2 separate regions of the Homo sapiens genome follow, and region 2 is linked to region 1. Evidence: promoter capture Hi-C in 16 types of primary human blood cells and fetal thymus (Javierre and others, 2016). All regions are on one chromosome and are shown on one strand. Each heading gives the region's core, a stretch centred on a gene start or on the middle of the fragment in contact. The rest is flanking DNA. Distances are from core to core; before and after follow the strand shown.

What was found. Contacts are between HindIII fragments. The CHiCAGO score rates a contact against its expected background, and 5 or more counts as called.
Region 2: a contact is called between a fragment that was not itself captured here and the fragment with the promoter of HHIP-AS1 in region 1, in 1 of 17 cell types (fetal thymus). The highest score is 5.3, in fetal thymus.

Annotation. Positions count from the first base shown.
Region 1 is chr4:144,642,122-144,648,687 of GRCh38, forward strand. HHIP-AS1 (HHIP antisense RNA 1) reads right to left here and starts at 3,898. Exons shown (of 2, transcript NR_037595.1): 1 at 3,586-3,898; 2 at 795-1,613. HHIP (hedgehog interacting protein) reads left to right here and starts at 4,035. Exons shown (of 13, transcript NM_022475.3): 1 at 4,035-4,833. The coding sequence starts at 4,555. RefSeq lists enhancers at 4,000-4,565, 5,806-6,394. The HindIII fragment of the contact is 14,814 bases long and covers 1-6,566 here.
Region 2 is chr4:145,084,613-145,091,089 of GRCh38, forward strand. The region is part of intron 2 of ANAPC10 (anaphase promoting complex subunit 10); the gene reads right to left. Among named protein-coding and RNA genes, the nearest start is that of ANAPC10, 10 kb to the right of the region's middle. The HindIII fragment of the contact is 2,403 bases long and covers 1,219-3,621 here.

The DNA of each region.
Region 1 (6,566 bases), core at 2,648-5,147:
CCAAAGAAGGAAATGCAATTCCTGCCCTTCTGGAGATTATAATCTCATGAATATTCAACTTGCACATATAAAAACATCTCAGGTATTTACCAATGATGCACAAAAGAAAATAAATAAAATGTATCTATATGCTTTTTAGATGAAGTGCAATGCTTGAAAGGCCATTCAAACTAGAATAATTCTTAGAAGAGGTTGCTGTTAAGCCAGAATTTAAAGAAAGAGACAAAGATGGATAAGTATAAGGTAGGAAAGAAAGAGCACTTGCAAAAACAAAAGGAAATGACAAATACATGGCACTAACTTAATTAGTTACCTGGAGTGTATAAACTAAAAATCTACGAATTTGGCCTCTAGCCTTTCCATTCTGAGTTATCTATTCTGCACTTCTCCTCAAATGTATCAAATTATATTCTGAACTCAAAAGATCCTATACTTTAAACAGTGGTTGGAGTCACTTCGTACTCCTTCCAAGTCATCCTAAGTCTCAACTGAAATGTCATTTTCCCAGAGAAGTTTTTTCCAGTCACTTAATCTGAAATAGGTGTGCTTTGTTATTCTGTACCTTAGCATTTCTTTCATACCTTTTACCACAATTTATAACTGTAATTTTATTTGTGACCTTATCATTTGTCTTCTATACTAGATTATTAACTACCTAGAAGCAGGGTGTTTGCATTATTTTTCAGTACTATATACATACTGTTTAGCACGGTGCCTGACACTTAATATATATTTGTTGAAATGGAATTAAATAGTACATATTTCTGTGAAGGCCAGAAATCCATACATAAAACTGATTCCAAAACTCAAAATAATTTTATTTCAAACACTTAACAAAGTTAAATTGTCCTCACTTCTGATACACAAAAATGTATATTCATATAACTCTCTTGATATATACATATACATACAAACATAATTCACATACATGGTAATATTCTGACCTTTACCTCTGAAATTAATTTCAATTTGTGTCATATATTTCATTTTTTACAATAAACTAAATACGTTCATAAAAATAATTAATTCTTCTAAAGTAGGGAATATAACCCTGGATAGGACCAGGGTATGAGGGTGGGATGGTCCGAGCTGGTGCCAGCTCATACAAGATGCATTGGTGCACATTTTAAAAAGGACCCACATCCTCTGGGTAGACACAGACACACAACAACATAAGCTCTGCTTGGTGAATGGAGCCTGGGCAGGACTTCAGCTCCCACTTTATGTGCTCTTGCACAGGGCATGACCTATGCATAGGTGGCAGTCCTGGAGAGGGTTGCTCAGTGGTGGTGTGAGCAGAAGATGTGATCTAGCCACCCTTGGGCTGTTCCACTCCTTGCTGGAAAGGGCCGATTTGATTTGTCTGGATTATTTTGGTCAACAAGGGGTCCCTTCTTCTTTTCACCACTCTGTCGGTTTAGCTGAAGAGGAAGACCTCTCCAATGAAAGAGGACCATTTTTCACGTTCAAGTGTATGCATGGCTATCCTCTGCTTCTTCAGCCTCCAAGGGGGCTTTTAAGGTTTAATCTAAAGAAATAACCCTGTATTGATTCTTGATTCCTAAGAAATTATGCTGTCAGTCTGGTTGTAGGCAAGGGTTGCAATTTTCCCTCTGGAAAAAACAAATCAGAAGTTAGTCCATTTGTATAACACTGCTTAGTAACTGTTTAGAAATTATATCAGTAACACTAAGAATAAGCTCAAGCTATCTCCTAAGTGACCCAATTTATTGACTTTCAGGACAAACAGTATATGAAATCAATTCTAATTTCCATATATCAAGAAATAACAAGCATGTCTTATTTCAGTAATCTTTTATAAACTTTCTATATCTTAGGGTCGTAGGTTATAACAGATGCATAGTATTTTAAAACCAAAATAAATTTACCTTTAAGTGGCCTTAGTATAAGCCATAAGAAAGGCCTGTTTCAAAACTACTAACAGGAATTTATCAGAGTAGGAGCTCAAACTACTGAAATACGATTTTAGAAGGACTTTTATTTTGGAAAAAGAATATAAAACTGGAATTTGGGAAGAAAGGGTTAGATAGTGGAAAGCACCCCAGATTGGATCCGAGTCCTTATTCTCAAACTACCTAATGAGATGAAATTGTGCAAGTGATTTAAATTTGATGAGATTCATCTGGAGATCTATTAATGAGTTTAAAGTCTTAAAGTGCTTACTGCTTTCTGATTAATTTTATATTAAAAGTCCTCAAAGCAGAAAGAATGTCAGATAAAAAAAAGTATGTGAGATCCAAAGTGGACTTACAATCACATGCATGAAGAAGTCATGTGTATACAACAGCCCCTGGGGAAAATGTTAAATATGTCATGGGGGCTCTACATTTAGCTGAGGACTGGGCCAAACATCCTAGCAGATTCTTTTCAGTTATTCTGATGTGTCATCTCTTTGGGGAAAAACCTAACTTCACTAATATCCAGGCTCAGGAAGTGAAAAAGACAGAAGCCTTACCTAGCCACTGTGACCAGAAGTGATTAATTTAATCAACTGCCCACCTCAACCATCACCAACTTTTGCAATCACTTGGCGAAATCAATGTCCAACAAGTGAAGCAAACCCAAATGTGGTGAACATTCCTCCATTGCCAAAATGGGACAACTGCCTTATCTCCTCATCAAAGCCCATCTTCTGGGAAATCAGCTTCTCTGTTAAATACCCAAGTGGGCTAGAAGCGCATTTTGTGGGCAACCCTATAGAAGCTCGTCCTGATGCCAACTTGCAGGGATCCAGTAAACCTCAAGTCACCGCTCCTGATAACGTAGACATCTTTTTAGACACACTATTTACACAGACTTTGTCTAGCTGGGGAAAAGGTTAATTTACTTGTATACACGGGGATAAGTAGAGCACAGCGCTTCTGGATGCCCTCAGACTTGCATCTAATTCTTTCTCCAGATCTAACGCCTCTGTTTCTACACCCAGGGGAACCTCTCCCCAGGGACTGCGCGCGCGTGCGTGCAGGTGTGTGTGTGTGTGTGTGTGTGTGTGTGTTTGTGTGTGTTAAAACGAACACTAATTCCGCGCCCAGCTTCTCTCTCCGTCCACCTGCGGCCCAAGAACTTGTGTTCCCAGATGGTACCAGCGGGGCCCGGCTTATTCCCGAACACATGTGGGGACCTGAAAGGGGCGTCGGGGACTAACCCGCCCAAACCGTGGCAAACACTCTGGGAGGCCGACTTGGGCTTGGCCTGTGGCCCGACACACCGCCCCACTCCGCGCACACGCGTCTGTGCCACTTCAGTGGCTTGCAGGACCTCCGGCGAGGATGAGTCTCCAAACCATCTCAGCCTACTCAACGGCATCTGGGATGTCCCCCTGCCTCTAAGTCAGACCCCAAGAAAGATCTTTGAGGACTTGAGCTTCACGTTGAAAATCAGTGTGGAAAATGGGGGTGTCAGTGCGGCTGGGGGAGACAAAGGGGCCCAAAAGCTCCCTCCCGTCCGCTCCAGCCCACTTAGTTCACCCTCCCACGGGGCGAGGGGCGGGCCGGGGGGCTGAGGTGGGGATGGCCCTGGAAGGGGTCCCTCCCTTCCCACCTCCTACGGCCCACTCTTACTTACTTTCTTTCGGAGCCTCAGCTTGGCCGCCTTTAGCCCAGGCAGTGCGGAGGGGAAGCGGGGAGGAGAGAGGAGCCTGCGGGCTGCAGCAGCCGGGCAGTCCCGGAATCTCCGGACTGCGTCCCTGCCCCAAGCCCGCCGGGAACCCGGGCCGTGGACGCCCCCACCCGGGGGCCGCGGCGAGGCGGGCGCGCGGGGTTCAGCACCCTCGAGGCTGGTTCCGAAGGCTCGCGGCCCTCCCCCTCCGTCCGCCGCCGTCGCGGCTAGCCGCCCCTCCCCGCCGCAGCAGGGAGGCCGCCGGGGCCCGGGGGACGCGCTCGCGCGGGGGCCGCCCCCTCCCCTTCCCTCCACCCTGGGCGGGGGCGCGCGAGAAGCGGTGACGTCAAGGGGCGCGCTGTGGCAGCACCTCCCCGCGCGCTAGTTAAAAAGAAGAAGAAAAGAGGGAACGAAACATGAGAGGCTGTGTGAGAAGCTGCAGCCGCCGGCAGAGGAGACCTCAGCATCATCTAGAGCCCAGCGCTGGCCCTGCCTCCGCCTGCCCCGCCGCCGCCGTCGCCGTTTCTGTTCCTGCTACTGTCCCACCTAAACAACTCCCGTTACACGGACAAGTGAACATCTGTGGCTGTCCTCTCCTTTTCTTCCTCCTCTTCCAACTCCTTCTCCTCCTCCCACTTCCCAGCCGCAGCAGAAAGCCCCCAACCCAACTGACACTGGCACAACTGCAAACGGTGTCATCCGCACAACTTTATCTCGCTCCTCGGGCTCCCCTAAGGCATTGGACCCATCGCCGCGTCTTTTATTTTTTGCAAAGTTGCATCGCTGTACATATTTTTGTCCCCGCCACCTCCCTCTGTCTCTGGAGTGCCCTACAGCCCCGCAAACTCCTCCTGGAGCTGCGCCCTAGTGCCCCTGCTGGGCAGTGGCGTTCCCCCCCATCCTCCCGCGCCCAGCCCCTGCTGCTCTGGGCAGACGATGCTGAAGATGCTCTCCTTTAAGCTGCTGCTGCTGGCCGTGGCTCTGGGCTTCTTTGAAGGAGATGCTAAGTTTGGGGAAAGAAACGAAGGGAGCGGAGCAAGGAGGAGAAGGTGCCTGAATGGGAACCCCCCGAAGCGCCTGAAAAGGAGAGACAGGAGGATGATGTCCCAGCTGGAGCTGCTGAGTGGGGGAGAGATGCTGTGCGGTGGCTTCTACCCTCGGCTGTCCTGCTGCCTGCGGAGTGACAGCCCGGGGCTAGGGCGCCTGGAGAATAAGGTAGGCACTCACCGGCTTCACGGATGCGTACTTGGCATATTGGCTGGGTGGGGTTCCCTGTGGCTCTGGCAAAGCCGGTGGTTGTAAGAAGGTCAAAACTTCTTTGGGGGAGTTCTTTCCATAACTTTTCTATAGCGCTAACGTGATTCCGTTGTGTGTTCCTCTGGGGTAAGCAAGTAGCATTTCCTCCCCCAGAGTCCGCGGTCGGGATGCTGTGCAAACTTGCCTATCTCTGAAAACAGACGTTTCTGCGGTACCCGCACCCTGGGCTGGGTAAATATTTTAAAAGAATCGCGATGAACAGTGTGTTTTGGATCGAATGGGGCATTGGCTGCGGTGAAACTGTAAATTAAGGTGGCTGTGGTTTCCGGCTTATTTTTCTAGGGTAAAAAGATTTGTGCTGTTTTCTCCACGTGCTCGGTTAGGGAGAGGATTGAATCGTAAAGGATGTTGAAGCATGGTTGGTTTATGATCCCCAGCCCCGTCAGAGGGGGGTGTCTTGCATTACATTAGTTAAACCAACAGAAAGGAACTCCTGGTCCTCCGGTTAGGGACCTGAAAAAAACTGGCGAAAGATTTTGCTGGGGCGTTATTTATCACATAAAACTGAGACGATTCTCCGTCATTTTGTAACATTATAAATTCAGACTTTCAGGGTCAGTTGGTGTCTTGGAAGATCTACTCTAAGAATTTGTTTTAAGAGTAATGGCATTTACGTTATCCTTGTGTTAATAAGTTTAAATACTAACATGGTGTTTGTTGACTGTAAAGGCACGCTTGTTTTTGAGTTTGCAATATCGTTCTTGCCAGGAGATGCAGTCATGGGTGGTATCTACTGTACTCCAAGGAATCATTGCTGGCTCACATCATTAACAATCACTGCACGTGAAATAAACAATCAGGTGTCTTTGCTCCCCCTCCCTTTCCCCATTTTAGGTTTAATTAAGAATTCCTCTGTTAGAACACTGCCAGTTGTCAAGGTCTGAGAGACTCTTGGAAAACTTGTGCTTCAGTCTTGCTGGCCCAGGCATAATAAAAAAAAAAAATACCCAGGCTGAATCTAATTTTTATGCTCAGTTCACGGTAGATTTCACTCTATTCTCATGTAAACAGCTCCTACGAATCAACATATGTGTCTGGGTGGTATCTCTCACTTTGTTTTGTAACAAAAAGCCATATTGCATCATTTAATTTGCTCAAGTCATGCAAATAGGAAAAAATCAATAGGACAAAAAGGGGTCGACTTATCCTCCTCCCCACTAAACTGCTGCCCACACACAGAGTCCTGTTGCTTATGGCAAAAGAATAACAACAACACCATTGTATTTGTTAGTTGGTTCACTAATGGGTGAAACTAGAGAACATCATTCTCTTTCAGTCCCCAGCTCTGTCCAAATGTTCATGCCTTTTGAGGGAGCATTTGTCCAACTCCTTCTATTCCCAGATGAGTGAGAACTGTCTTGCTGCAGGTTTTCAGCTGCAACTCTCTTTTTATTCTTACCATATGCAGCAGGAGCCTGAGATTCAGGGAACAGATATTCCAGGATTTTATTCAAAGCAATGTCTTTAAGCTCCTGTGTTGCAACTGAATTAAGTTTCAAAATAGCTATATTCAGGTCACCTTAAAGGTTTTATCAGGAGCCCTAAAGAACCAGGAAATTCAGAGAAAAGTTTAGAAATATTTGCCATTAAGTCTCCCTTGGTGCAATACGTACTATGAATATACTGATGAT
Region 2 (6,477 bases), core at 1,170-3,669, 440 kb after region 1:
GTTTACTAATTTGGTCTGCATTCAAAGCTGTCCTGGGCCATATATGTCGATAAAATGTAAAAATTGGGCTATTACTTCTTCCGTAACTCTTAAATCTGCACTGTCCAATACGGTAGCCACTAGCCACATGTGGCTACTTGAAATATAGCAAGTCCAAATTGAGATGTGCTGTAAGTGTTAAAATACACACTGGTTTGAAGATTAGGACAAAATGTAAAATATGTCATTAGTAATAGTAGTCCAGTTATACTAGATTTAAAAATATTATTACAATTAATTTCACCTATTTTTAGCCCTTTTAAACGTAGCTACTATAAAATTCCCCATGAAACTTGTATATATATTTCACGTCACATATTCTATTGGACAGTCATGCTTCAAATCATGCTTCGTTCTTTACACAATATTGCTAAAGCTAATCCAGAATATTAGGTAATGCAAGTTACAAGATAAAAAGCTGTTTTACCAGCCTGTGCAACATAGTGAGACACTGTCTATACAAAAAATAAAAAAACTTAGCCAGGCGTGATGGCACTCATGTGGCTGAGGCAGGGGGATCACTTGAGTCCTGGAGTTCGAGGCTGTAGTAAGCCATGACTGTACCACTGCACTCTAGCCTGGGCAACAGTGCGAGAAACGGACAAAAAAATAAAAATAAAAATAAAAATAACTGTTTTACCTCCAATATAAAGAGTTATAGGTCTTAACTCTCTTTTTCTTTTTAGTACTAGTTTTTGAGTTCCCTAGTAAAGGATAACTAAATCACGATTCTTCCGTAAAAGCTCCACAGTTTAATGTTCTATTGATTAAAAGGTTTTTTTTTTCAGTTATTTTATTTTGGCTACCTCAGCTAGGTTTTTTTTCTCCTCCATTTCACAACTTTATTATGTATGTGCTCAAAGAGGTTCAAAGAACAAAATAGTATTTGTTCTTAAAATGCAAAAAAAAAATTAAACACAAATCTGAATAATTTATTCAGAATAAGAAATGTCCTATAATTCAAAACTGATCATTTAAAATTTGTCTCTAATTTATTGCTTAGAAAGTATCATAGTACAACTAAGCAGGTCTAATATCTTCAAGTACTGATTAGTCTAAATCTTTATGTCTGAAATACTAAGTATGATTACCAACTTTTGCTTCTTCAATATGCCTTACAAACGGAACCTCTTACAAACATCTCCTTATGTGCCAATCCCGTCTCAACCTCTTTTCCAAAGCTTCCCACTCAGTATTGTATTTGAATTTTTTTTCTTTTTTTTTTTTTTTAAGATGGAGTCTCACTTTGCCGCCCAGGCTGCAGTGCAGTGGCGCGATTTCAGCTCACTGCAACCTCCACCTCCTGGGTTCAAGCAATTCCCAGAAGTGACTGTTGCAGGTGGCTGAAGCTCACCTTTGCAGGGGGCAGAGCTTCAAAAAATAAAAGTCTAAAATATGAAGGACGTAAGAGTGAAGACTTGCCTCAGCCTCCCCCAGAGTAGCTGGGATTACAGGCGCCTGCCAACACGCCCAGCTAATTTTTGTATTTTTAGTGGAGATAGGGTTTCACCATGTCGGCCAGATTGGTCTCAAACTCCTGACCTCAAGTGATCCACTGGCCTCAGTCTCCCAAAGTGCTTAGATTACTGGCATGAGCCACCGTGTCCGGCCCTGAATTGTTTTAATTTAAACAAAAGAACTAAAACAAAGACGTATCTATGATAACTGCTTTAACAGGTATCCAGAAAATCCACACAAATAACAATATTACACAGAAAAAAACTTTTATAAGAGGTACTGGTTCTCCAATGCAGTTATTATATGATGTACTGGTTCTCTAATGCAGTGGTTCGTACAGTGTCGTTCCTGAACCAGCAGCATCATTACCACCTGGGAACTTGTTAGGAATTCTAGACATGTATCAGAAACTTTGAGAGCTCAGCCCTTTTGAGAGTTTATGTTGTGATAAATCCTCTAGGTGATTCTGATGCATGCTAAAATGTTAGAATTACTCCTCTAAGGCAAGGTTTCTCAATCATGGCAGTACTGATATTTTGGACTGAATAATTCTTTGTTCAGTACAGGGGATGTCCAGTGCATTGAAAGGTATTTAGCTGTATCCCTGGGCTCTACCCACTAGATGCCAATAGAAACACTCCCCCAACTCCCCAACTCCCCCCACCCTCATGTCCCCAGTAATCACAACAATCAAAAATATCTCCAGACTTTGTACCCTGGAGGGTAAAAGCATCCCCTGGTGAGAGCAACTGCCCTAAAGAAAAGAAAATCAGTATTCATCTATGGTTATTGTTATTGTTTGGTAAATATTCATGCTTCTCTCCCCACTCTCCATGGGAGGGATACGATTCTGCACTCCAGTCAATAACGGGGCTAAATCATGACTTACTTCAGTCAATACACTGTGACACAAGCAGAGGCGGTAAATGTGCTTGCAAAGTCTGGCTTGGTCTTCTGAATGCTCTGCACTCCACTAAGAGAATATGCCTGGACAAATGGAGCAGACTTGAACCTGACTCACAGCCTAAAGCCGAGCCATCACCAAAGCACAAAGTAAATTTGGCTGATCATGCCACTGAGAGACTAGGGTTGTTCGTTAAGCAGCATTAGTGGAGCAAGAGCACTAACACAACACCACTAGAGACATATTTGAGCAGCCCAGCTTAGACTGCCTTTATGAATAAAACAGTCATTTTCCTTTCAAGCATATCTATTAACACAACTACTTTCACATTTGCTAAGGGGCTGTTTTTTTCTTTTTTTTTGAGACAGGGTCTCATTCTGTTGCCCTGGCTGGAGTACAGTGGTACGATCACAGCTCACTGCAGCCTCAACCTCCTTAGGCTCTGCTAGGGGGCTATTTTAACTGAGGCAAATGTCTTAACTATGAAGACCTAAAGATAGATACAAATGGTCTCTGTAGAGAAGTTCATCCATATCATGCACTAGACCTACACTGTGGCTATATACATTTAAACGAAGTAAAATTAAAAATTTAGTTCCTCAGTAACAGTAGTAACATTTCAAATGTTCAATAGTTTCATGTAGCTAGTAGTTACCTCACTGCATGGTGCACTAAGTTCTAATGGACAGCACTGATAGATTTAAGCAAATAGATTATAATATGAAGTATTAGTACAACAATAAAGAGATGAGGCCAGGCGCAATGACTCATGCCTATAATCCCAGCATTTTGGGAGGCTGAGGTGGGCGGATCACTTGAGGTCAAGAGTTTGAGATCAGCCTGGCCAACATGGTGAAACCCTGTCTAAACTAAAAATAAAAAAAATTAGCTGAGTGTGGTGGTGCGCACCTATAATCTTAGCTACCTGGGAGGCTAAGGCAGGAGAATCACTTGAACCCGGGAGGTGGAGGTTGCAGTGAGCTGAGATCGCACCACTGCACTCCAGCTTGGGCAACAGAGCGAGACTCCACCTCAAAGAATAAAAATAAAAGAGAAATGAAGAATTAACTAACTTCCTGAAACACTTGTTTCCTCTTGACTTCTATCCATGATTTCTCACTCTCTTGGTTTTCCTCCTAGTTCACTAGCCACTTCTTAGTATCCTTTGTTGACACCTCTTCCACTATTCTGCCAGATCTCTTCATCTTCAAGTGTCCCAAAGCTTTATTCTTTTCTCTAAATTCTCTCCCTAGATGAGTTAGTCCAGTTCCCTTAGAATATCATTGGCACACTGATGACCTTCAAATTTGTATCTCCAACCCAGAACTTCAAGCAGAGCTCCCAGCCTCTACAGTCAATTGCTTACTAAACATTTCAACTAGAAAAATAGGCATTGCAAAATTAACATATATAAATTAAATTATTTATTTTTTGACCCAAAATCTATTTACTCCCTCCACTCCCTCCTTCTTTCTCAACTCAGGAAACAGTATGAGTTGTTCTGCCAGAAAGGTCACTCTGAAGGTTTCCTCCTGTGAATCGTAATTATTCCACCTCTAAAAATATATCCCAAAGCCATCATTCCTTTCCATATCAACAGTTCTTAATCCTAGTCCAAATCAACATCATCTCTAACATAAATTACTATAACATCATTTCCTCCATTGGTGTTCACCATTATGCCACTATCAACCATTATCCACAGTGGACACAGTCATCTTTTAAAAATTCTGTATCAGATCATCTTCCTCTCCTGCTTAACACCTCCAGTGGTTTCCCTTTGTACTTAAAATCAATACTCTTTTTCAGGGCCTACAAGAGTTCATATAATCTGTCCCACCATGTCTAATTACATTTCCAATCCACTCTACCATTTCTCCTCCTTACTCACTGCTCTCCAGCCCCTATAGCCTTCTTTCTGAACCTCTAAAATGCCAAATCAACTAACTTAGAGCCTTTGAACTAACTTCCTGGTGTCAAGAAAGTTCTTCTCTGAAATCTTTGCACAATGAATTCTTCTTAACATTCATGTCTCTGTGCAAATTTCACTTATAAAAGAGGCCTTCCATAATCCCACAAACTAATGTAGCCTCCCACTTAAAGTTACTTTCTATTATATTGCTGTCTTATTTTCTGCAAAGCAAATATCACTATTCAACTCAGAAATCCTTTAACTCAAAGGCCATAATTGTCAGTTATAGCATGAACTTCAATAAAAATTTAGTGATTTTTATTTTAAGAAAAACAGAATTTACAACATCCCATTAACCTTCTAAGAATTAACTCAATGTCTTCAAAAAAAAACAGGGAACAAATAGCATATAAGCCCTGTAAGATGTTCACAAAATACAGCCATACTGAATCCCTTCTTTGTATCAAATATAGAGTTAAGCACAGCAGATGTACTTATTTTTCCCCTAAATTTGTTTTTCAACATTGGATTAATTTGGTGCTTATGAAATGATTAAATTATTTTAAAAGACCCTATTATACGGTAGCAGTCATAACACAAATTTGTTCTTTTGTTTTTCCAGTCTCTTAGGTAGAGACTAACAATTGTGCTGAATTGTAAGATTGTTTTGTGGTGTGTGTTCAACTAAGCTGAATCTACTAAACACATTCCAACTTTAATCTGAATGAAATATTGAACCATTATTTCAAAGATACAAAAAGATTTTTGCAAAGCCATGTGCCACCTACCATCCTGTAGCAGGCAAGTAAATCTGTATCTCCCAAAGACTGACATTAACATTTTGAAAATTTCTTAAAATTCTCCTTTATATCACTTCCTATCTGATTTATCGCGTCTCCTGATTTCCTTTTTATTTCTAATCTTGCCTCACTTCAATCCATCCTCCACACTTCTCAAATATGAACAAACACTGATTGTTTTACTCTGTTACTTACCTTTTCAACTGCTCATATTATCTATACAGTAAAGTATGAATTGTTTAATAAAGTCTTCTATAATCAGGCTTCTACCTAACTATACAGCTTCACATACGCCATTTCCCTATTTCTAGTCTCATTTACTACATGAAATTAATTGACTAAGCCATGTTTTGTTTAAGTTGTATACCTCTGCACATATTATCATTTCTTGGCATCCAACGAGGATTGGTACCAGGACCTCTGTGGTTAACGAAATCCACTGATGCACAAGTCCCTTATTTAAAATGGCTCCTCTTGTATACTTCAAATCATCTCTAGATTACTTATAATACCTAATATAATGTAAATATGTAAAAAGTTGTACAGTGTTGTTTTTCTATTTGTGTTATTTTTGTTGTTGTATTGTTATTTTTTGTGGGTTTTTTCCAACTATTTTCAACCCTCAGTTAGTTGAATCCATGAAATTAGAACCTACAGATATGGAAGGCTAACTGTCCCATTTCCCTTGCTTTTATGTCCTTAGTGAAATCTTATTCTTGCTTCATCATACAGAATAAGCATCATCTCCATGAAGACTTCCATGATCGTTTCAAGCAAAGTAAATCACTTTCTTCTTTGGGCTAGTTCTACACTGAGCCCATATTTAGTGGAAAGCACTATTGTGTAATGGAGTCTGTCTTGAATTCCAGAATTTCCTGCTTATCATGTGATCTTTGTCAAATTACTTAATCTTTCTGTACTAGTTTCCTCATTTGGAAAATGGTAAAAGAAATAGTACAACTTCATATATAACTTTTGAAAACCTTACTGAGATAACTGGTTATTTTATGCATGTAAAGTTCTTAGAACAGCATCTATCACTTAGTAAGCACTAAATAAAAGTTATTAATTATTACATTATGTAGTAATAGTTTAAAGCTATACTTCCTCCACTAAATTGTGAAGTCCTTGACAGTAAAGATTGTGTCTTTTTTGTCTTTCAATCTCTAACAAGTTTGAGTTACAAATCTCAGCAACTATCTGCTGACTTAAACTGAAAAATATCTGACCCTAGAGAAGCAAAGATCGAGCAATCACTTTCTCATGCAGTTTCCTGTTTATAAAGAGTAGTCATTCTTAATATGTAAAATGCTAATCATATAATGATATTTCACTGATAGACTCAAAGCTCAAAATCACATGAA